Regions from separate parts of the Homo sapiens genome. Here regions 1, 2 and 4 are each linked to region 3. Evidence: promoter capture Hi-C in 16 types of primary human blood cells and fetal thymus (Javierre and others, 2016). All regions are on one chromosome and are shown on one strand. Each heading gives the region's core, a stretch centred on a gene start or on the middle of the fragment in contact. The rest is flanking DNA. Distances are from core to core; before and after follow the strand shown. Region 1 overlaps ZNF383 (zinc finger protein 383). Region 2 holds the start of ZNF527 (zinc finger protein 527). Region 3 holds the start of SCGB2B2 (secretoglobin family 2B member 2). Region 4 holds the start of ZNF345 (zinc finger protein 345).

Region 1 (5,643 bases), core at 1,806-4,305, 2.5 Mb after region 3:
TCCAAAGAATTTAGAAAATAGGGAGTTACAAACAGCAAATCTACTACCCAGAAATAACCCAGTAATATTTTGATCTATTTCCTTCTAGTAAGTTTCCTATGCACATATACATTGTTTTCAAGATTGGAATCTTATGACATTTACCATTTCATATCTTGTATTTTCACTAAAAATTATGTATGGTTCTTATATTTGGTTTTCTTTTCTTTTCTTTTTTTTTCTTGAGACGGAGTCTCGCTCTGTTGCCCAGGCTGGAGTGCAGAGGCGCGTTCTCAGCGCACCCAGGCTGGAGTGCAATGGCTAGATCTCAGCTCACTGCAACCTCCCGCCTCCCGAGTTCAAGCAATTCTCCCGCTCCAGCCTCCTGAGTAGCTGTGATTACAGGCACCTGCCATCATGCCTGGCTAATTTTTATATTTTTGTAGAGATGGAGTTTCACTATGTTGGCCAGGCTGTTCTTGAACTCCTGACCTCAGGTGAGGCCTCCCAAAGTGCTGGGTTTACAGGTGTGAGCCACTGCTCCTGGCCTATATTTGTTTTTTTTTTTGTTGTTGTTTAATCCCTTTATATTACGTAATACAGAAAAATAGTTAAAATATAGATGTATAGTTTAAGAAGTAATTATAAAGAGACCCTCAGCATAACAAAAACTTGCTTCAGCAGTCCAGAAAAGCCCGCTAGTCCTTTCCCCAGAATAAACTTATCCTACCTCCCTCTTTAGGCAACACTTATCCTGACTTTGATAATCGTTATTTTCTTCTTGACTTTTTAAAAAAAGTTTTGTTTTGTTTTGTTTTTTACCACATATCTGCTTATCCCTAAACAATATAGTTTAGTTTTGCCTTTTTAACACTATATAAATTAAATTGTACTGTATGATGTTGTTTTGAGTCTTGCCTTTCTTATAAAATACTATATTTGTTAGCCTCACTCTCGCTGCTATACATAGCTGCAGTTCAGACGTTGGTTATTTCCTGTATGACAGGGCTGCTGTGAAAATGTTTTTACAAGTATACCAGCATATATGCATACCTTTCCAGGATATAAGTGTATGAAGGAATTGCTGGGCCATACAGTATGTTTTGCATCTTTAAATTTCCTAGATAATGCTGAACTGATCTACAATATAGTTTTATAAATTAAATTCCTACCGACAGCTTATAAACATTATAGTCATCTTGTATTCTAACACATGGTCATTTGGTATTCTAATCTTTAATGAATCTGCTGATACCATGATATATCATGTTGTTTTAAAAGTATAACATACATTCTGGGGCCAGGCATGGTGACTCATGCCTGTAATCCCAGCACTTTGGGAGGCCTACTGGGCAGATTGCTTGAGCCCAGGAGTTTGAGACAAGCCTGGGCAAGATGGTGAAACCCCATCTCTACAAAAAGTACAAAAATTAACCAGGCATGGTTACATGCTGCTATTGTCCCAGGTATTCAGGGGATAAGGTGGGAGGATTGTTTGAACCTAGGGAGGTTGAGGCTGCAGTGAGCTGCGATTGCACCACTGCCTTCCATCCTGGGCAACAGGGCAAGACCCTGTCTCAAATATATATATATACCATACATTCTGAAAAGTACAAAATCAAGGTATATGACCTGATGACTTGTATAAAAGTGAGCATATTCCGGGCTGGGCGCGGTGGCTCGTGCCTGTAATCCCAGCACTTTGGGAGGCCAAGGCAGGCAGATCATGAGGTCAGGAGATCAAGACCATCTGGCTACGGTGAAACCCCGTCTCTACTTAAAAAAAAAAAAAAAATACAAAAAATTAGCCGGGCATGGTGGCGGCCGCCTATAGTCCCAGCTACTTGGGAAGCTGAGGCGGGAGAATTGTGTGAACCCGGGAGGTGGAGCTTGCAATGAGCCAAGATTGTGCCACCGCACTCCAGCCTGGCCGACAGAGCGAGACTCTGTCTCAAAAAAAAAAAAAAAAAAGAAAAAGCATATTCCTTTGACCAGATCTCAAATCTGATAAGGAAATAAAACATAACTGGCATTACAGAAGCCCAAGTCTTGTCCAGTTCACTCACTACCCACTTCTCCTAAAGAGAACTAATAGTTTGTCTTCTATAGCCATAGACTAATTTTACCTATACTTGAATTTTGCTTGGCTTCTTTTTTTTTCACTTTTTTTTTCCTACTGTCAGTTTCACTTGGAGATGATGCTTGGCTTCTTTTGCTCAATATTGTATTTCGTATGTAATATGAATGTATTCTGTAATAATATGTAGTATAAATATATAAAATTCATCCATGTTGCTGCACGTTAGTTATAGGTGATATAATGAATATAGTGAACACATTATTATTGCTGTTTAAAATTCTGTTGTATGAATATAACACTTTTTTTTGTTTTTGAGACAGTTTCGCTCTTGTTGCCCAAGGTGGAGTACAATGGCACCATCTCTGCTCACCACAACCTCCACCTCCTGGGTTCAAGCGATTCTCCTGCCTCAGCCTCTCAAGTAGCTGAGATTACAGGCGCACGCCACCACACCCAGCTAATTTTTTGTATTTTTAATACAAACGGGGTTTCACCATGTTAGCCAGGCTGGTCTCAAACTCCTGACCTCAGGTGATCCGCCCGCCTCGGCCTCCCAAAGTGGTGGGATTACAGGTGTGAGCCACCGTGCCCGGCCGAATATAACACATTTTACTTATCCATTCCATTACTGATTGGCATTTGATTTCATATTGAGGCTGTTATGAAAAACGCTGCCGGGAACATTCTTTTACATGTCTTTTGGTGCACATATGAATGCATTTGTCTTGGGTGTATTTCTAGGAGTGAAATTGCTGGGTCATGGTTTCTGTATATGTTCAGCTCTAATAGATACTGACAGTTTTCTGAAATAGTGGTATCAATCTATATTCCAAACTGCAGTGTAGACTTTATGACAAGAATAGATTTTACAACAAGAAGCTTTACTAGAGATAAAGAGGAATAGTTTATAATAAAAAGATCAATTCACCAGTAAGATATAACAGTTCTGAATTTATATGCCTTCATAAAATGGCTTCAAATATATTTGACATAACTAAAAGAAGTAGTAGATAAATCACAATCTTAGTGGGGAGTTTTTAGCACTCTTCTCAATAGCTGACAGAACAAGTGACAAACCCAATAAAGCTATATGGTATTTGAACAGTGTGATTGACAAGCTTGACCTGATTGATATGTATAGAACAGTGTACCTTACAACTACATAATATACTTGCTTTTCAAATGCATATGAGACATTTATCCAAATTGATCATATGCTGGGCCACAAAGGGAGTCTCAATAAATTTCAAAGGAATGAAATAATACTGTAACTTTCCTGACCACAGTAGGTTAAGCTAGAAGTCAATAACAAGAAGATAATTGGAAATATCCCAGCCAGGTGTGGTGACTCATGCCTGTAATCCCAGCACTTTAGGAAACCGAGGCAGGAGGATTGCTTGAACCCAGAAGTTTTAGGCCACCCTGGGCAATATAGCAAGACCCCATTTCTAAATTTAAAAAAACAAAAATTAAAGAAATATCCCAATGTTTGGGATTTAAGCAATGTATTTATAAATAACTGGTGACTCAAAGAATAAATTGTGATAGATATTTAAAATATTTTAAACTGAGTGATAATGAAAAATAACATACCAAAATTATGTTTCTAAAGCTGAATATGAGGAAAATATATAGCTGTAAATGCATATGTTAGAAAAAAATGAATGTTGGCCGGGCGCAGTGGCTCACACCTGTAATCCCAGCACTTTGGGAGGCCCAGGCTGGTGGATCACGAGGTCAGGAGTTCAAGACTAGCCTGGCCAAGATGGTGAAACCCCATCTCTACTAAAAATACAAAAAAAAGTAGCCAGGTATGGTGGCGGGCACCTGTAATCTCAGCTACTCAGGAGGCTGAGGCAGAGAGTTGCTTGAACCTGGGAGGCAGAGGTTGCAGTGAGCCAAGATCGCGCCACTGCACTCCAGCCTGGGCGGCAGAGTGAGGCTCCATCTCAGAAAAAAAAAAGAAAAAAATTAATGTTGAAAAATTAATGATCTATGTATTCATCTCAAGAAGCTAAGGAAAAGTCTAGAAAGTTAAACCCCCAAAATTAAAATCTAGGAAATAATAAGAATAAAAGCCCAAATATAAAATTTTTAGTTTATTTGGTATTGCATATATTTAAGGTGTACGTGTTTTGCTGTACATAACGAACATATATTGAAATACAAAATGAATGTACAGTGAAGAAAACTAACAAAGGCAAAAGCTTATTTTTGGGAATTAATAAAATTAATAAATCTCTAACAAAACTTAAAATATGAAGTAACACAAAAATTGCCAATATCTGATAAGAGGAAAATTAAACCAACCACAGACTTAACTTAAAGGCTGAGGGCTCAATTAATTAATTAGTGTTTGGTACCTGGGACTTGGTTCCACAAAATAAGCTCATTGGAATCTGAGCCACTGATCATTATACTGGGTCCCTTTTTATACTTCATTGAACATGTAGATTTTTCTGGTTTTTTGTTTTTTTCTTTTTTTGAGAGACGGGCCTCTCACTCTGTCACCCAGGCTGGAGTGCAGTGGTGCAGTCACAGCTCACTGCAAACTCGACCTTCCAGGCTCAGGTGATTGTCCCATCACAGCCTCCCGGGTAGCTGGGACTACAGACAATGTGCCACCATGCCCAGCTAGCTTTTTTTTTTTTTTCAATGATTTTGTTTTCATTTTAATTGTGGTATAAAAGACAATGTAAAATTTACCATCTTAATCTTTGTTTTTTTTTTTTTAGACGGAGTCTCACTCTGTTGCCCAAGCTGGAGTGCAGTGGCATGATCTCAGCTCACTGCAGCCTCTGCTTTCCGGGTTCAAGCGATTCTCTTGCCTCAGCCTCCTGAGTAGCTGGGATTACAGGTGGGTGCCACCATGCCTGGCTAATTTTTGTGTTTTTAGTAGAGACGGGGTTTCACCATATTGGTGAGGCTGGTCTTGAACTCTTGACCTCGTGATCACCTGCCTTGGCCTCCCAAAGTGGTGGGATTACAGGCATGAGCCACTACGCCTGGCCATCTTAATAATTTTTTTTTTGAGATGAGTTTTGATCTTGTTGCCCAGGCTGAAGTGCAATGGTGCGATCTTGGCTCACTGCAACCTCTGCCTCCCAGGTTCAAGTGATCTCCTGCCTCAGCCTCCCGAGTAGCTGGGAATACAGGCATGTGCCACCAAGCCCAGGTAATTTTGTATTTTTAGTAGAGACAGGGTTTCTCCATGTTGGTCAGGCTGGTCCCGAACTCCCGACCTCAGGTGATCCACCTGCCTTGGCCTCCCAAAGTGCTGGGATTACAGGTGTGAACCACCACACCAAGCTAATCATTTTTAAATGTACATTCCAGTGTTAAGTATATTCATATTGTACAATAGATCTTTAGAACTTTTTCATCTTGCAAACTGAATTATAACTATTAAGCTACAATGTCCCATTTCCCTCTTTCCCCAGCCCCTGGCAGCCACTGTTCTACTTTCTGTTTCTATGAGTTTGACTACCTTAGATACCTCTGTAAGTGGAATCATTTATAATAGTATTTGTCTTTTTGTGACTGGCTTCTTTCCAGTCACAATACCCCAAGATAGAAAGGGGATT
Region 2 (5,657 bases), core at 892-3,391, 2.7 Mb after region 3:
TAGCCGGGCATGGTGGCGCACACCTGTAACCCCAGCTACTCGGGGGCTGAGGCAGGAGAGTCACTTGAACCCGGGAGGTGGAGGTTGCGGTGAGCCGAGATTGCACCACTGCACTCCAGCCTGGGCAACAGAGCAAGCAAGACTCTGTCTCAAAAAAAAAAAAAAAAAAAAAAAAGAGACCCGAAAGAATGAAAAACAAAAGTATTTCATTCTGGAACTAGACACAGAATGAAGACATTGTGTGAGGACCTGAGCTGCTGCAGCTACCTTGCAACCACATAAAGCAACACTGCCAATACATTGAGGACTGCAGAGCAGGAGGAAGGATTCTTGCTACAATTGGTCACCTGCTAAGCCAACTGAACTTCTTGCTAAGTGGGGAAATAAATATCTTTACTGTATAAGCTACTTTCAGTTGAGCATATAACTGTATAACTTCCTATTAAAAGCATCTTAATTGAAATTCCCAAATTCGTATCTCTAGTACCAACATTTCACTGAGCTCCACACACATATATCTAAATGCCTACTTGATATCACTCTTTTGAAATCCAACAAGCATCTGCGACTTAACATGATACCTCACCACCCACCCCATCCTAGATAACTGCCACATACTCATTTTCCCCTATCTTAGTAAATAACACTACCATTTTTCCAGGGGCTCAAGACATTTAGGCATTATATTGAACTTCTCTCTTTCCCTATATTCACAACCAAGCATCAGCAACTTCTGTTAGTTCTACACTCAAACTGTATCCCAATCTGACAATTTCTCATTGCCTCTTCCAGTGATGACCCTAATTCAAACCACCATCATCATAAGACCATTGGTCTCCAAAATAGTTTATACATAAATGAGCCTGTCATTGACATGTAGAGACCTGGGTCAACAGTACAGATGGAGGTCCCCAGCCAGTCCCCTTCTGTTCCCACTGCCATCCTTGTCCCACATCGTAAGAGGTCTTCTATTCCCACATGTGGACACTCCAGCTTGCATATCTAAGCTCTGTCTAGCCTTACCAAATTGCTCTCATTTGGCCACATTTTGTGGATAGGCAGCACATTCCACCTTTGGAAGACAGATCAAGGGAAGGGTCTTTGGACACAGAGGAGATACAGGCTCTGGAAGCAGGCTGGAGTCCATTTGAACAGGAAATCCTGGGGATTTGGATACCCAGAGCATGGTCTGAAAGAAGGTTGTGAGATCTTTGCAGGCATGTTTCTGCCTATGGACTTTCACCAGGAAGGAAACTGCTTGACTAGAGGAGGGCCAAAGTGTGGCCTTTTGTATGTTTAATAATATTAAAATGTTAAATATATTATTTTGACCAATTGAGAAATAATAATAATAATAAAATAGGCCGGGTGCGATGGCTCATGCCTGTAACCCCAGCACTTGGGGAGGCCGAGGCAGGTGGATCACAAGTTCAGGAGATGAAGACCATCCTGGCCAACATGGTGAAACCCCATCCCTACTAAAAATACAAAAATTAGCTGGGCGTGGTGGCAGGTGCCTGTAATCCCAGCTCCTCAGGAGGCTGAGGCAAGAGAATCGCTTGAACCCGGGAGGCGGAGGTTGCAGTGAGCGCCGAGATTGCCTCAATAAAAGATACCACAGACCCCGCCCATGGCAGGAGATGGGGGTGAAGGAACAGTAAGACCAGGAGACAGTCAGATACACATCGGATCAGTGGTATCCTCACAGTAACAGAAACGGTCACCCCCAATGTCAGCCACAGTCTCTTTCATCCACAATCACTTTCACATTCAGCTACCCACAATCACGGGACGTGATTTAAAATACAGAAGCTCCCTGCACTGACAAAATCCGCCGCTCCTTTCGTCGGCAAGCATAAAGGTGTGCAGCAACAGTCACACACGAACCACCACACCCAAGCATTCAACCAGTCAGCCCCGCGCGCAGCCTGGCCGCTTTCCCCAACACAGCAGCTCAAGGTCACTGGAGAGCCTACGACCGCACACAGCCCTCTCCGGTACCTGCCCCCGTGGCGCAGGCGCGCAGTGGAGGGGGCCGCGGGGTTCTCTGGGAGATGTAGTTCAACGATGACGGCCGTGGCGCAAAGCGTTCTGGGGCTCGTGGTTCGCGGGGTCCATGGGGAACGCGGTGTCGCTGGTTCAGATCTCGCAGAGCTCAGAGTCCTGCATGCCTCAGTCCTCGCCTCGCTCCTCCTCGCGGAGGATTCTGGGAGGTGACGTCGCGGGTCTCGGTCGCGGGGCCCGTTTGCAGAGCCCGCGGCGCCGGGAGGTGAGTGGGGCCGGGCCCCGGGCGGGAGCGGGAAGTCAAGGGCGGGCTCCGGGTGGCCCGGCCGCGCCAGGGATGGGAACCCGGCAGGAGTCGCTGGGGAGGCCGTGTGTGTTTCACTGTATTACCAACTATGTGACAGGCTGCGGGTGTGACAGAATGTGATCTTGTGTCACTGTGTGTGTGTGTTTGTGCGCGTGCGCCCGCTTGTGTGTGACTGTAACCATCTGTGTCTGGGGGTGAAACTGTGAATATGTGTGTTTGTGTGTGACTGTCTCTGCAGGTGTAGCTGTGTATGTGTTTATGAGAGACTGGGGTGTGACATTGTGTGTTTGTGTAAATGCATGTGTGTGGTTATGTGACCACCTGTTTCTGCGGATACAATTGCGTTTGAATGTGTGTGACAGCAAGTGTGATTGTGCGACTATGACCATCTGTCTCCGCAGGTATAGTTTTGTATCAGTAATTGTGACAAGATGTGTGACTTCTGTGGTATGCTACTTTGTGTGTGATTGTGTGTGATTGTTTATCTCTGTTGGTGTAGTTGTATGTTACCATCTATCTTTGTGCTTATGTGGCTGTGTATTGTGTGAGATTATGGGTGTGTTTGTGTGACTCTATACATTTGTGATTGGGTGAGAATTTGTGTGTATATATGAGATTGTGGGATTGATGTATGAAGCACAGAAATATTAGAATTACCCAAGTTCACACAGTTAACAAGTGACAGCACCAGAACTCAAACCCAAGCAGTTTAGCTCTAGAGGTCTCGCTTTTTTTTTTTTTTTTCTCTTGAGATGGAGTCTCACTCTATTGCCCAGGCTGGAGTGCAATGATGCGATCTCGGCTCACTGCAACCTCCGCCTCCCAGGTTCAAGTGATTCTCCTGCCTCAGCCTCCCAAGTAGCTGGGATTACAGGCGCGCACCACCACGCCCAGCTAGTTTTTGTATTTTTAGTAGAGACGAGGTTTCACCATGTTTGGCCAGGCTGGTCTCCAACTCCTGACCTCATGATCCGCCCACCAGAGCCTCCCACAGTGCTGGGATTACAGGCGTGAGGCGCTGCGCCCTGCTGCAGTTTTTATGGACAATTTCAAGCTGCACTACACTAAGGAAATAACTGCTAGGGACTGAGTTGCCTAGTGCAAAGTAGTCCAGAATTAGGGGGTGAAATTAGGGGGTGATGTATACTGAATTCTAGGTCAACCACAGTTGTCCCTTTCTTTTCTTTTCTTTTCTTTTCTTTTTTTTTTTTTTTTTTTTTTTGAGACAGAGTCTTGCTCTGTCCTGTAGGCTAGAGTGCAGTGGTGCAATCTCGGCTCACAGCACCCTCTACCTCCTGGGTTCAATCAAGCCTCCCACCTCAGCCTCCCAAGTAGCTGGGACTACAGACACATGCCACCACGCCCAACTAATTCTTGTACTTTTTGAGGAGATGGGGTTTTGCCATGTTGCCCAGGCTGGTCTTGAATTCCTAGTCTCAAGTGATTTGCCCACCTTGACCTCCCAAAGTGCTGGGATTACTGGTGTGAGCCACTGTGCCCAGCCTGTCTCTATTTTTACAATGAAGAAATGTTGGCTCTAAGAGGACAAGGAACTTACTTCAGATTGCCCAGTTTGTTGTTGCTTTAGTATTAAAATTTGGCGATGTTTCCCTCAGGCTGCATTTCTGTAGAGAAATAAAGGTAACACCTGCCATCTCTAAAGATGCCTCTCTAAGGAATATATGGCATTGATTACTCGGGTTGTGTTGAATATTTCCCATTCAGACATCGTGGCCTCTCAAAAGAGGACTGGTTTTGAGGTCACATTTCAGTTGGACCCCGGACTTTGAGTTGGTTGTTTAAGCTTCTGGAACCTCCCTTTTACTACCAGTAAAGTGGAGATATTAATACCTATCTTTGTAGTTTTGTGGAGCAGTAGTAGTTCTGAGGATTAAATGAGATAATGACACAATGAGATAACCATGTGTGACAGTCTCTCTATCTTTGTGCTAATACGGCTGTGTGTGTGAGAGAGAGAGATTATGCCACCGATTGTGTAAATGTGTATATGTTTGTGATTGGGTGAGAATTTTATGTGTATGTGAGATCACGGGATTATGTCGGACCTAGTCTGATTGTGAGGCACAGGAAGATTAAAATTACTTGCCCAACACAGCATGAGTTAACATTGTATATTTATATTACATAAGGCACAGTAAAATTTATTTATTCATTTATCTAATTTTTTGAGAGACTACAATGGTCTGGTGGTGTTCTGTCATTAGAATACACCTGTGAACCAAACAAAACCTAGTTCTCTTGGATCTTACAATCTTGCATGGGAAGAGAAACAATAAAGAAACAAAGCAGTATGTAACATGTCCAGTGGTGATAAATGCTGAGAAAAAAATAATTCAGGGTAAAGAAAAATGGAGTACCTGGAACAGGGGTTCCCTTGAGGTAGAATTTTCAGGGAAGTCCCTCTGATGAAGGGACACCTGAATGCAGATAGGAATAAAGAGGAGTGGCCCATGCTGGTGTCTGGGAGAAGGTTCCAGACGGAAGGAAAAGTCCACAACCCTGAAGAAGGGGTGTACAGTGTTTGAGTAACAGTAGGAAGACATGTGCCTGGAGTGTGGCGAGTAAGGGGCGGAAGGGTAGGAAATTAGGTCAGAGGTGCAGCCAGGGGCCAGATCATGAACCACCTTGTTGGCCGTAGGACAGACTTTGGATTTTGTTGAGTTCAGGCTATGCGTCCTTAATATATAAGTCAAGACTTTGGGAGTTAAGTTCAGCATTGGATTCCACCCCGCCACCCTGGCCAGATCTTGGAAAAGGTGAGGCTGGCCCATGTAGGGAGAAGAAAGGGGCAGTAGTATTTTTGTGGGTCTTGGACCAAAAACACAGGGCTGGCACATCATCATTTCTTCATTAACTCTCCCTTCTCAGGACTTTGTTCTTCTTCAGAAGAGAAAACTGAAGAAGGAGGAATGGCTGTGGGGCTTTGTAAAGCCATGTCCCAGGTAAGCATGCTCTTTCACTTTGTTTTCAGACATTTGACCTCATTTTTCAGGACTTTGGGACCACAGGGAAAATCACAAATAGCCCAATGAGCACCCCTTCCACTTCTCTCTCCACCTTTTGTTCATATAATCCTTCTACAAAACATTTAATATCTTTTTTAGTCAGTGTTATGCTCAAATGTGTGATGGAGCAGAGCTATCCTCTTTAGATGGATGATGATTTGTTGAGTCGGCAATGAGTGCAAGTGAAATAAGGGATAGAGTTTGATTACTGAGTGATCTATTAAATAGGGAGGTCAAGGATGGCCTCTCTGAGGAAGTGACATTTAGCAAAACAAAACTTCAGTGAAAGTAGCAAGTAAGTTTTGTGGAGATCTGGGGAA
Region 3 (6,146 bases), core at 1-2,500:
GTCTCGCTGGCTTCAAGAGTGAAGCTGCAGACCTTCAGGGTGAGTGTTGCAGCTCATAAAGGTAGTGCAGACCCAAAGAGCAAAAGAACAAACATCCCACACCTGGGAAGTAGACCCCAGCGCGGTTGCCGCTGGTTGTTCGGGTGGCCCGTTTTTATTCCCTTATTTGGCCCCGCCCACATCCTGCTGATTTGTCCATTTTACAGAGCGCTGATTGGTCTATTTTACAGAGTGCTGTTTGGTCCGTTTTTACAGAGTGCTGACTGGTGCATTTACAAACCTTTAGCTAGACACAGAGCACTGATTGGTGTATTTACAATCCTTCAGCTATACAGAAAAGTTCTCCAAGGCCCCACCTGATCCAGAAGCCCAGCTGGCTTCACCTCTCGGTTATATGCTAATTATATGCATTAGCACGCTAAGAGAAACGCTCATCAGTGCCATGGCAATTTACAAATGCCATGGTAAGGTTCAGAAGTTACCCTGTATGGTTCAAAAAGCTGGGAAGCCCTCAGCTCCGAGAAATTGAAATTGCCCACCTCTTTCCTGGAAAACTCATGAATAATCCACCCTTGTTTAGCACATCATCAAGCAATAAATACAAGTATCCCTAGTCCAGCAGCCCAAGCTGCTGCTCTAACAATGGAGTACCCATTGTTTCTTTACTTTCTTAATACACTTGCTTTGGCTTTGCACTGTGCTCTCCCATGGATTTTTTCTTGCGTGAGCTCTAAGAACTCTCTCTTGGGGTCGGATCCGGACCCCTTTCTGGTAACAGAAGCACTGCTTCACGAAGATCATGCAGGTCAGTACTTAATAAGTACAAAAAAGTCTATAGCGACACTATTTATAATTTTAAAAATGATTGAAGTCAATTAACATTTAAGTGTTAAAAAGAAAGTAAACAACCCAAATATACACAAACAGTAGACTGCTCTGGCTTGCATACAGAGAGGTCCATTGCCCTTTTGGGTGGGCCTAAGAAGCACTTCTGGGGAGAGGGGGCGTCAGGCTGTGATGGCTGCGGGAGGAGTGACTCCTCCCAGGATGAGGGTCTCCATCCTCCCAGTGCTCACTCAAGTTCAGTATTTCCAAGTCCTTCCAGGGGCGTAACGCACGTCAGAACGGCCATTAGTGTCACAGATACGTGTCCCCTTGCATTTCCAGGAAATGCCCTTGGTTGGCGAACTACAGTCGTGACAGTCGGGCCACAGGGCGTTTTGTGAGTTATCGTCTTGGGCAAATGAGTGCCAAAAAAAAAAAAAAAAAAAGACCTGAAGGTGAACAGCATAGCGGCAGGGTTTGGGATGAGAGGAGCCCCTTTGCTAGCAACGGCGAGCACTTGCGCGGTACCAGCAAGGGCTGCCCATGTCTCGGAGGGAAACGTTTGTGTGAGCGCAGGAATGACCCGGAAGACCTTGGCACGGCTGCAGTTTTCTGGGAAATGTAATTTCTTGGTCCGGGCGCCATGGCCCTTATAAGTAGAGGGTGTCCCTTGGTTTCGAGTTGTATCGTTCACCAGAGGACGACTGTGTGCCCCAGGACAATTTGCGCATGGTCCTAGCTGGCCGGCTCTAGGTCGACGGCCCCAGGCGGTTAAGCTACTTACAAAGCCGTGACCGGTTTGCCCGCGGCGCACCAGGTCCGCGCAGCCGCAGAGACCCTTGGGAAGTGTGGTCTTCGGGTGCCGGCGGTTCGCGGCTTCCGGGACATTTGTACCGCAGGGGGAGGATTCTGGGAAATGTGGTTCGCCGTGGGCGGTGCACTGGGTCAGTCCCGCGATAGCTTCAGGCCTGGCGGCGGCTTCCAAGCTAAGGAACGGTTTGGGGCAGTGTCGTTCCCGGAGGTCGGCCGCCGTTACCCGCTCACCAGCTACGCGGCGCGTCAGGTCCGCGGAGGCGCGGGCTCGGGGCGCCTGCGGGACGGTGAGGCCCTGCTGAGGACTCCGGCAAGTGTGGGTCGCGGCGACGGCGGGGCTAAGGCCCTGGGTCCGCGCGCGGTTTGACCACGGCCGGGGCCTTGGGCATTTCCTGGCCTTCCTGTTGAGCCGTGTAAACGCGGGGTGATGACGGCGCCGACCTCTTGGCACTGTTGTGAGAGCGAAGTGGGCGCGAGAGCAGACGCCAGCTACAGTTTTTTTTGGGTTATGTCGTCATGAAGCCGGCGCTTTCAGTTGTGCAACCTTGAACAAATGGGTTCAGTATCTCGGAATTTCAGTTTTGTCTTCATTTTAAAAAATAAATCTGGTTTAGAACTCGACCTCAAGCGATCCGCCCGCCTCCGCCTTCCGAAGTGCTGGGATTAAAGGCGTAAGCCACCGCACCAGCCTAACGAACATGGCGAAACGCCGTCTCTACTAAAAATACAAAAAAAAATTAGCTGGGCGTGGTGGCACGTGTCTATAATCCCAGCTATTCGAGAGGTTGAGGTAGGAGAATCGCTTCAACCCGGGAGGCAGAGGTTGCAGTGAGTCGAGGTCGCTCCATTGCACTCCAGCCTGGAGACAGAACGAGACTCCGTCTCAAAAAAAAAAAAAAAAAAATCTGGAATAATATGAATGCACACCTTGCAAAGTGGTGAAGACTGAACGAGCTGATAAAGTTGTTACCGTTGTTTTATGAGTCTTTTGTATACAGAATAATTGATTTTCCCCGCAGGTGGCACCTGGTAAATAGCCCTTGCGGAGAAACACCCTGTTCCTTCCCAGGGAGAGATTGACGCTCCGGCGAGTGATTACCAGTGTGCTTTTCCATTAAGGTGTGTGACAGGTGCCGCAAGATAAGCCCGATTTTTCATGACTGCTTTTTCCTGCCTTTCTGTGCCCTCAGGACACTGCCCATCTCTAAGATAAGAACCTGGAAAGGGGACTCTGTTGGCCATTGGAAATTGCAGAATAATGTCTCAGGTAAGTCGGTGTGTCCCCAAATCTTCCTGAAACACTTTATTAGGCCTCTGTGTGTTTGCTTTGCTTCTCCTGCCTGTTCCCACCTAATCAAGTCCATTTAAGGGACTAGATCTATGGTTCCTTTCACTATAGGAAGAATGGAGCCCACAGGAGAGCTCCAAGGTATTGTCCTCATCACCCAGTGTTCCTCTTTTCTACAGTTTTCTGCTAGAAGACTTTCTAGATTGCCAACATTTTAAAACTGTAATTCACAATGCAACTTTGGAATGTAAGGTTATTCGGTTTATGGTTGTCAAAACTGTACCATGTGGTCTCAAGTGAAGAGATGTTTGGAGTCATCCTTGATTCTTCCTTTTGACTTATAACTCATATTCAGGTCCTCTAGTTTGGATCTAAACGATACACCGTATACAGCATCTGACCATTAGTTAGCCCATCACCACCACCACCACTACCACCCCAGTCCGAGCCACCTGGATTATTGCGGTAGCCTCCTAGCTGGATTCCCAGCATCTGCCCTTAACCCTCATCAGTCTGTTCTCAGTACAGCTGTGACCATGGTCCTATTGTTATATAAATTCCTGTCATTCCGCAACCTAAAATTTTTCAGTGGTTCTAACTGAGTCACTTCTGCAATGACCTATTTGTACAATTAGGCCATTACCTCCCTGATCCCACCTTCCTTCTCTGCCTCCTCATTCCTGTGCGCTCCAGCCTCTGTCACCAGTTGCTGTGCCATCCACGTGGAATATTCTTCCCCCACATACGCACAAGCTTGCATCCTTATCTCCTTCTGTGTTTGTTCCGTGGTTACTTTCTCAGAACAGCTTCCCTGAAAGCCTATTTGCAATTGCAGTCACCTTCCCTAGCGCTTCCACTCCTCCATCACTGCTTTGTTGTTTTCCACAGTGTGTGTCACTCACTAGCTGATGTACTGTATGTTCAGTATATGCACGTGCTCATTGTCTGTTCCTGGTGGGAGGAATGCTTTTTCTTCTTTGTTGACTGTTATAGCGTCAGTACCCAGAGTGTTACCTGGCACCAAATGGATGCTTAGTAAGTAATTGTGGAGTGAATAAGATGAGTAATGAAGAACTGGTGGGGCAGAATCATGGCATGGAAGGTGAAGCTTGCACAGGAGGGGATGTAAGTAGCAGATGTACATCTTGGGTGAAGTCTGTTTTCATGGAATAATTAAGATAATTAGAATTGAAAAACTGGTGTGGTAGTGCATGCCTGTTGTCCCAGTTACTCGGGAGGCTGATGAGGTAGGAAGATTTCTTGAGCCCTCTGGTGTAAGCCTGTAGTGAGCTATGATTATGTCACTGCACTCCAGCTTGGTGACAGAGCAAGAACCTGCCTCTTGAAAGAAAAAACAAAGTAAAGGCTAAAGTGAACTAATGCCAAAACCATTCATTGGTTCATCTTCTAAACACTTATGAAGTACCTGTTAGGAAGAGTTGTACATGGATTTTGGTGTACACTGACACACAGGACTTCATGATCTAGTGCAGTATTGTCTAAGAGAACTTTCTGCAGTGGTGGAAGTGCTGTGCATGTGTACTGATCAGTACGGTAGCCAACAGCCCCATCTGACTATTGAGTACTTGAACTGTGGCTTAAGCAATGGAGAAAATAAATTTTAAATTTTATTTAATTATTTTATTTTTACATTTTAATTAATTTAAATGTTGTAGCCAAGTTGGCTAGTGGCTCCTGTATTGAAGATTGTGGCACTGGTAGAAAAGTAAGAAAGCATGGGAAATTTAAATAAGTGCTAGGATAGATATCCTATGTTCTTTTGGGAACTGAGATGAGTGAACATCTCAAGCTGCCCAGGCAACTGAAGGGGAAGAAAGAAGCATCCCTGGCTCTAAGTTGTAATGACTGGTTTGTCAAAGATATGAGAAATGTTATTTTTATTTGGGATATAGGCAATTAACACAGTGGCAACTCCAATTAACAGGTGAATTTAGAAGAAATTTTGTGTAGCAAATTGAACTGTCAAATCTTACTTGAGGATAAGTTATTGTTTATTTGGAAAATGTGTGTTGGATTGTATCTGCTTGCCTATATAAAAAGATGAGATTTCTTCCTGTCCTTTTCATCTCAATAGTGGATCGCTTGTGAAGTGCATCAAGGTCTGATTTAGCTTATTCAGTAATAAAACTGCTTTCTTTTTTTTTCTACATTTGTGGAGAGGATTTTCTGCCATTGGAAGGCGATTCGAATTTTAATTATTTTCTCCAAACCTGAGAAAAGTAAATTCTGCCTTTAAAACCAAAGATCCATGTCACTGGTGAACATGCATGCAAAATATCCAAATAAAGTAATACAATACTGAATGAACTCTCAGAGCTAAAAAATTACCACAGTAGAGCAGTCTGTTTTACAAATCACAGACAGTAATAACTCTGTATTAAATGGCTGTACTTTTTGCACATATTATAATTTGACTAGCCAATAAGCTATTATTGAATATTTAAACTTCTAAAGTTTTACTATTTTAAATAATACTGTGAAATGAGTACTATTGAGAAGAATTTCTAAGCACATCTGTGAGCATTTCCTTAGAATATTTTCTTTGAAATCTACTCTTATTTTTTTCCCCTTCCAGGTCCTATTTAAGGACTGTCTATGGCAGGAGTCCTCAACCTTTTTGACACCAGGGATCAGTTTCGTGGAAGACAATTTTTCCACGGAAGTGGGAGGTGGTGGAGGTGATGGTTTGGGGATGAAACCGTTCTACCTCAGATCATCAGGCATTAGATTGACATAAGGAGTGTGCAACTTCGATCCCTTGCATGTGCAGTTCACAGTAGGGATTGCGCTCCTGTAAGAATCTATGCTATAGCTGATCTGACAGCAGGTGGAGCTCGGGTGATAATGCTCTTTCCTGCCACTCACCTCCTGCTGTGTTGCCCGGTTCCTAAAGGCCACAGACCAGTACCAGTCCGTGGCCCAGGTGTTAGACCCCTGATCTATGACATGAAACCATCCTTCAGTCTTTTCACCCAGGAGTCTCATATTTTAATTATTAAATGTTTGTCAGCACGAAGTTTAAGTATACACCACAAATATATTTTTCTTTTTTGTTTATGAATCAGTTATGTGTATGTTTTAGTCCATTTGTGCTGCTGTAACAAATACCCCAGACTGAGTAGTTTATAAATAATGAAAATTGACTTCTCATGGTTTTGGTGCCTGGGAAGTCCAAGATCAAGAGGCAGGCATCTGGCAA
Region 4 (5,801 bases), core at 2,921-5,420, 2.2 Mb after region 3:
CTGTGTTCTAACTGCATTTCCTTAGATTCTCTATTAGTCTATTTGGCACTCGTTCATCAAGAGGCCAATTATATTAACTATATTTTCTTATTTTCTGTATTCTTGATGCTCTGGCATTTGGGGACCTTACCAAAAACAGGGAGAGGCTGCTCCTCTCAGGGCTAATTCCTAAAGATAATCACAGTTTTCCAATGAGCACAGCTTACATATGCAAACCAACCAATCCTGAGTCTATACCTCTCTGATATTGTGATGTAATAAGAAATATGTATTTTGGTCTTTATCCATGCCCATGGTTCTTGGTTCATGGGTCCTAAAACCCTTGTAGTTTCCTAAACAGAGTATTTTCTGTTAAAACACTTGTTCTTAGCCAAGTGCGGTGGCTCACACCTGTAATCCCAGCACTTTGAGAGGCCAAGGCAGGCAGATCATGAGGTTAGGAGTTCAAGACCAGCCTGGCCAACATGGTGAAACCCTGTCTTTACTAAAAATACAAAAATTAGCCGGGTGTGGTGGCGCACATCTGTAATCCCAGCTACTCGGGAGGCTGAGGCAGAATTGCTTGAACCCGGGAGGCAGTGGTTGCAGTGAGCCGAGATTGCGCCACTGCACTCCAGCCTGGGCAATACAGTAAGACTTTGTCTTGGGAAAAAAAACAAAACAAAAAACAAAACAAAAACACTTGTTCTTTTGTCCTTGGTTATGTTCTGAATGTGTTCCCCAAAATTTATATAGTGAAACTTAATCGCCAATGTGTTAGATTAAGAAGTGGAGCCCTTCACGCCTGTAATCCCAGCACTTTGGGAGGCCGAGGCGGGTGGATCACCTGAGGTCAGGAGTTCGAGACAAGCCTGGACAACATGGTGAAACCCCGTCTCTACTAAAAATACAAAAATTAGCCGGGATTGGTGGCATGTGCCTGTAATCCCAGCTACTTGGGAGACTGAGACAGGAGAATCACTTGAACTGGGGAGATGGAGGTTGCAGTGAGCCAAGATCACGTCATTACACTCCAGCCTGGGCGACAAAGAGAGACTCTGTCTCAAAAAAAAAAAAAAGAAGTGGAGCCCTTAGGAGGTGATTAAATTATGAGGGAAGAGCCTACATAGATGGAATTAGTGCTTTCAAAAAAAGGATTGAGGGAATGGGTCCAGCCCTTCAGTACCTTCTGACATGTGGGGACACAGCATTCCTGCCCTGTGGAGGATGCAGCAGCAAGGTCCCATCTTGGAATCAGAGAGCAGACCTACCAGACACCTATCCTGCTGGCATCTCAATCTTGAACTTCCCAGCCTCCAGAACTGTGGGAAATAATTTTCTATTATTTACAAATTACTTTTCAGGTATTTTGCTTCTCAGGTATTTTGCTGTAGAAGTACTAAGGGACTAAGACACTTCAGTTCCTGAAATAGCACCAGAGTAATAAATGTGAAAGATGTCTTTACTGTTCATTAACCAACCCCTTTCAACCACAAGTGAGTTAATGAGGTGAAGTTAGTAAAGCCCCTACATAACCACAGGATAGGGCAACCAAACATGTGATTAGAATGTTGGAAAGTTCTGCCCTACCCCATGACTTCTGGGAAAAGGAAAAGGGCTGAAGGTTGAACTCATCACCAATCGCTGCTGATTTAATTAATCATGCCTACATAATGAAGCCTTCATAGAAACACAAAGGGCTGAGTTCAAACAGCTTATTTCCCGGACTACCCCACAGGCGTTTTCTTTTTTCTGTTTTTTAGGAGACATTGGTGGGGTAAACATACAAAAATGTGATTGCCTCACTCAACCAAGAGCCTTAGCCATAATTAAAAGATGTTCAGATGGAGCTGTACAGGAATGTGATGCTGGAGAACTAGAGCAACAGAGCCACATTAGGTATAGATCGCTTGCCTGTATAGTCCAAATTTTGTTGTTTTTGTTTTTTGGGTCTTTTTGTTTGTTTGTTTGTTGTATTTTGTTTTGTTTTAAGGAGCGGAGAGTTTAATAGGCAAGAAGGAAGGGAGAAGACAGAAGGAAGAAGTTCCCCCATACAGAGATGGGGGTTGGGGGGGTGGTGGCTCCAAAGCCGAAAGAGGAGGTCCCCTTGTTTTTTGGGGGTTTTTTGAGACGGAGTCTCACTCTGTCATCCAGGCTGGAGTGCAGTGGTGCGATCTCAGTTCACTGCAACCTCTGTCTGCCGGGTTCAAGCCATTCTCCTGCGTCAGCCTCCAAAGTAGCTGGGATTACAGGTGCACACCACCACGCCCAGCTAATTTTGTATTTTTAGTAGAGACGGGGTTTCACCATATTGGCCAGGCTGGTCTTGAACTCCTGGGCTCAAGTGATCCACCCACTTCAGTCTCCCAAAGTGCTGGGATTACAGGCGTGAGCCACCGCACTCATGCTTGGTTTTTTTGTTTTGTTTTGTTTGTAGAGAGTATGCTGTTCAGGCTGGTCTCAAACTCCTGAGCTCAAGTGATCCTCCTGCCTCAGCCTTCCAAAGTGCTGAGATCACAGGCATGAACCACCATGCCCGGCCCTTCCTGCCATTGTTAAAAGCTTCAGGATTATATTTTACATCAGCATTTCCTGTTGTCATACACTTCCTGCCATCATATTTCGGCAACCTCTACCACCTCCCAAAGTTTCTAGCTTAAAAAATTATTGATTTCCTCCTAGCTCCCCTTTCTGTCAGTTTTTTAATTTTATATTTGTTTTCAAATGAGTCCTCACATTGATTTTAAAAATTTAACAAGAGTATAGTGAAAAGGAAGTTCCCCTTTCACTATTTATCTTCCCCATATGCATCTATTATGACGGGTTTCTTTTTTAAACTACTTGGAGTACTCATAACTGATTTTGTACTCTAGTTCAGAAGAAATGTCTGAATGTTAAATGTTTACATAAAAAATGCTATTTTATTATATCAGTAATGGAGCTTCCCCCCTTTAAAACTGCTGCACCAGGAAGATACAACCTTGTTATCACAATTTAAAGAGAAAATGAGACTTGGAGGTTCAGATTCCTCCACAGTCATAGTATCAGCTACCCACGCAGTGACCCACATTCAGGTGATTACACACACTCATACACAGATCCATACACGATCTTGCCCCCCCCACCTCCACACACTCAATATGACCTCCCCACGCCCAAAGCTGCACACATCTTGACCTCACTTCTCTCACACACACACCAATCTGACCCGCACGCGGTTTCTTTCACTCAACTACCCAGACACCCCTCATCCCACCAGCACAAGCAGGCCCACCGCGGTCTCACACACACTCGAGCCTTCCTTTGCCCAGTCTCACATGCATGACTGGGATCGCGGATTTGTCCCCTTCCGACTCCCCATGCTGGTTCGGTCCCAGACGCTCAGGTGCCACATTGGGGTGCGCTCTCCCGGCTCCTCCACACGCTACGCAGCTGCCCGCCTCAAGAGCGTCTGCGTGCTTCCAGCGTTAAGTGGAATTCCAAGCAGCCTCCGGGGCACAGTTAGTCTGGTCACTGCGGCCAGACTGCCGCCTCAGGACCCAGAGAACGCAGCACACTTTAGTTGGGCCCATCTATCCCCGGCGAGGCTTGGACTACGTTTCCCAGGAGACCCTGCGGTCCAGTATGTCTCCCGAGGAGGGGCGGAAGCCCGGGAGCCGCCCTCTGAGGCTGGGCGGGGTGAAAGAAAGCTTGCCCCAGAGGACTTAAACAGGCAAGAAGGACTTGGTTAAAGACTATTGCAATAGTCAACTTCCAATACAACAGCAGCTGGAGATTTATAGCTAACGGGCTGGGTGAAGGAGTTAAAGGATGCTAAATTACTAAGAGGAAGTTAAGTATCAAGAGTGGGGGGATTGTTACTAAACTGGCTTAGCTGGATTCTTGCTGAAGTGCTGTTCGCAGGCTATGGAGGAGGCCTGGCCAAGCAAAAAGGGCTCAGAGGAGCCTGACTAAAGCTTGGTCTAGGGACTCCTTGTCAGGTGAGACTCCCGGAAGGCTCCGATGGGCAGCTCACCTCAAAGAGATAGTTTTGTTGGTGCCAGAGTCCGCGCCAGGGGAATCGGGATGGCTGGGCTGTAGCTTTCGGCAACCTGTCGCTTTCTGGACTACACTTCCCAGAAGCCTCTAGGCCCAGGGCACTCTCCCGCGATAACTAGATTGTCTCTTGAGGAGTGGGCGGGATCTTCCCGCGGATTTGGGCAAGCGGCCTTGGGGCTTTGTGAGATAGCTAGGGTCGACTTGTGTGGATTCTAGTAGAACGGAGCTGACCCTATCCGAACAGGCGTAAGTGAGGCGGCTCGGAGCCTGGCGCGACAGGAACTCCCGACCTGTGTGGGCTGCGTGGGGAACAGGCTAAGGAGCGATTGTGAGGAGTGTGTACGGTTGTGACTGGGGGCGTGTGTCTGTGCGACCGTGTATGGAACTGTGAGGGCGGGGAGGAGGACTTTTTGTTTATGTTTGTGCGGGTGTGAGTAGAGTTTAATTGTGACCGGGTTGGGCACTGTGTTTGCGAGTGTGAGGTTCCTGGACCGCGGTTGTGACTGTATGTCCCCTTGGGGTGTGTGTGTGTGTGTTTACTACCATTTGCCGAACTGTGTGTAGTATGCCTTAATTTTGAGGTTTGTGGCTGCTTCCGTGTGTGTGTGTGCGCGCGCGTTGGTGATATTGTTGATGGAGGGTGCGTGTGAATTTGTTGTCATTGTGACCCCAAGGTGTATGTCACTGGGAATTTGAGAGATGCCCACGGACTCTGTGGTTGTGTCCGTGTCTACCCCCGTGGTGTGTATGAGTGTGTGATTGTGTGTTGTGTTTAGGTTTGGGGTGCCTGTGACGTTTATGTCCCTGCGGTGTGAGTGAGTTTGTGTGACTATGTGTCCGTATAGCCAATGTAGGTATGGGGAGTCTTTGTCTTTGTGACTTCAGCCATTGGAGACCCCTGTGAGCTCAGGGACAGGTTCTGCCCAGAACGGCATTGACCCTACCGTTGTCTGTGATGCCCGGATTAAGCAGGATGCCCTAGACTTCTCTGACCTTCCTCTGTAGGTGATGGGCAGTAGGGGCTGAGCAAAGATAACTTCTGACATAGTCAAACCAACTCCCTCTCAGAAGAACCTGATGTTTCCTGACTGCTTTCTCCTTCCTCAGCCCTGCCCTGCTTGGATAGAGGCCTCCGAACAGGAGTAAAGAATGGCTGTTGAACATCCACAAGGCACCTGCAAGGTAGCTTGTCCTGTCCTCTTGTTTAAGAAAAATCCCTTTTTCTTTGTCAGGACATAGTTGCTTTCCTTCTCTTGAAAATTCTTGCCTATGAGATGACCTGATCCCTGGAGTTTCCATTTTGAGAAAATGTGGTGTCTTCAAACCCCACCTCCCACACCTGATTTTCCCTTACTGATTTGTCAGATGGTTTTAATTTTTCTTTTTCTTTTTTTTTTCTTTCTTTCTTTTTTTTTTTTTTTTTTTGAGACAGAATTACAGGCGTGAGCTGCTGTGCCCGGCCTTATCCTTCTACTCTTGATGGACATTTGTCTTGTAATTTTTGGCTACTACAGGCAGTGTGACTATGATCATTTTGTGCGCATATTTTGGTACACATTTGCTTGCATTTCTTTAGAATATATACCTAGTGATTAAATTGCTGATAGTGGCTGGATGCAGTGGCTCATGCCTGTAATCCCAGCACTTTGGGGGGCCAAGGCGGGCGGATCACGAGGTCAAGAGATCAAGATCATCCTGGCCAACATGAGGAAACCCCGTCTCTACTAAAAACACAAAAATTAGCTGGGCGTGGTGGCACGCGCCTGTAGTCCCAGCTACTTGGG

The links. Contacts are between HindIII fragments. The CHiCAGO score rates a contact against its expected background, and 5 or more counts as called.
Region 1: a fragment that was not itself captured here is called in contact with the fragment with the promoter of SCGB2B2 in region 3 in 1 of 17 cell types (monocytes); the score reaches 5.2 in monocytes.
Region 2: a contact is called between the fragment with the promoter of ZNF527 here and the fragment with the promoter of SCGB2B2 in region 3, in 1 of 17 cell types (monocytes). The highest score is 5.8, in monocytes.
Region 4: a contact is called between the fragment with the promoter of ZNF345 here and the fragment with the promoter of SCGB2B2 in region 3, in 1 of 17 cell types (monocytes). The highest score is 6.5, in monocytes.

The regions. Positions count from the first base shown.
Region 1 is chr19:37,220,024-37,225,666 of GRCh38, forward strand. It overlaps ZNF383 (zinc finger protein 383), which reads left to right. Exons shown (of 6, transcript NM_001387601.1): 2 at 4,795-4,916. Among named protein-coding and RNA genes, the nearest start is that of ZNF383, 4.6 kb to the left of the region's middle. The HindIII fragment of the contact is 239 bases long and covers 2,937-3,175 here.
Region 2 is chr19:37,368,958-37,374,614 of GRCh38, forward strand. It overlaps ZNF527 (zinc finger protein 527), which reads left to right and starts at 2,142. Exons shown (of 5, transcript NM_032453.2): 1 at 2,142-2,269; 2 at 5,201-5,274. The coding sequence starts at 5,242. RefSeq lists enhancers at 1,512-1,651, 1,672-1,721, 1,892-2,201 and a silencer at 2,232-2,541. The HindIII fragment of the contact is 7,295 bases long and covers 1-4,113 here.
Region 3 is chr19:34,675,909-34,682,054 of GRCh38, forward strand. It overlaps SCGB2B2 (secretoglobin family 2B member 2), which reads right to left and starts at 1,251. Exons shown (of 4, transcript NM_001025591.4): 1 at 1-1,251. ZNF302 (zinc finger protein 302) reads left to right here and starts at 1,770. Exons shown (of 5, transcript NM_001289187.2): 1 at 1,770-2,195; 2 at 2,829-2,905. The coding sequence starts at 2,897. It also overlaps the pseudogene ZNF807P and the pseudogene SCGB1B2P. RefSeq lists enhancers at 742-1,639, 1,299-1,398, 1,449-1,508, 1,640-2,536, 3,394-3,895 and a silencer at 1,959-2,018. The HindIII fragment of the contact is 5,389 bases long and covers 1-3,677 here.
Region 4 is chr19:36,846,706-36,852,506 of GRCh38, forward strand. ZNF345 (zinc finger protein 345) reads left to right here and starts at 4,171. Exons shown (of 3, transcript NM_001242472.2): 1 at 4,171-4,263; 2 at 5,125-5,199. It also overlaps a transcript of ZNF790 not described here. RefSeq lists an enhancer at 3,694-3,933. The HindIII fragment of the contact is 2,588 bases long and covers 3,934-5,801 here.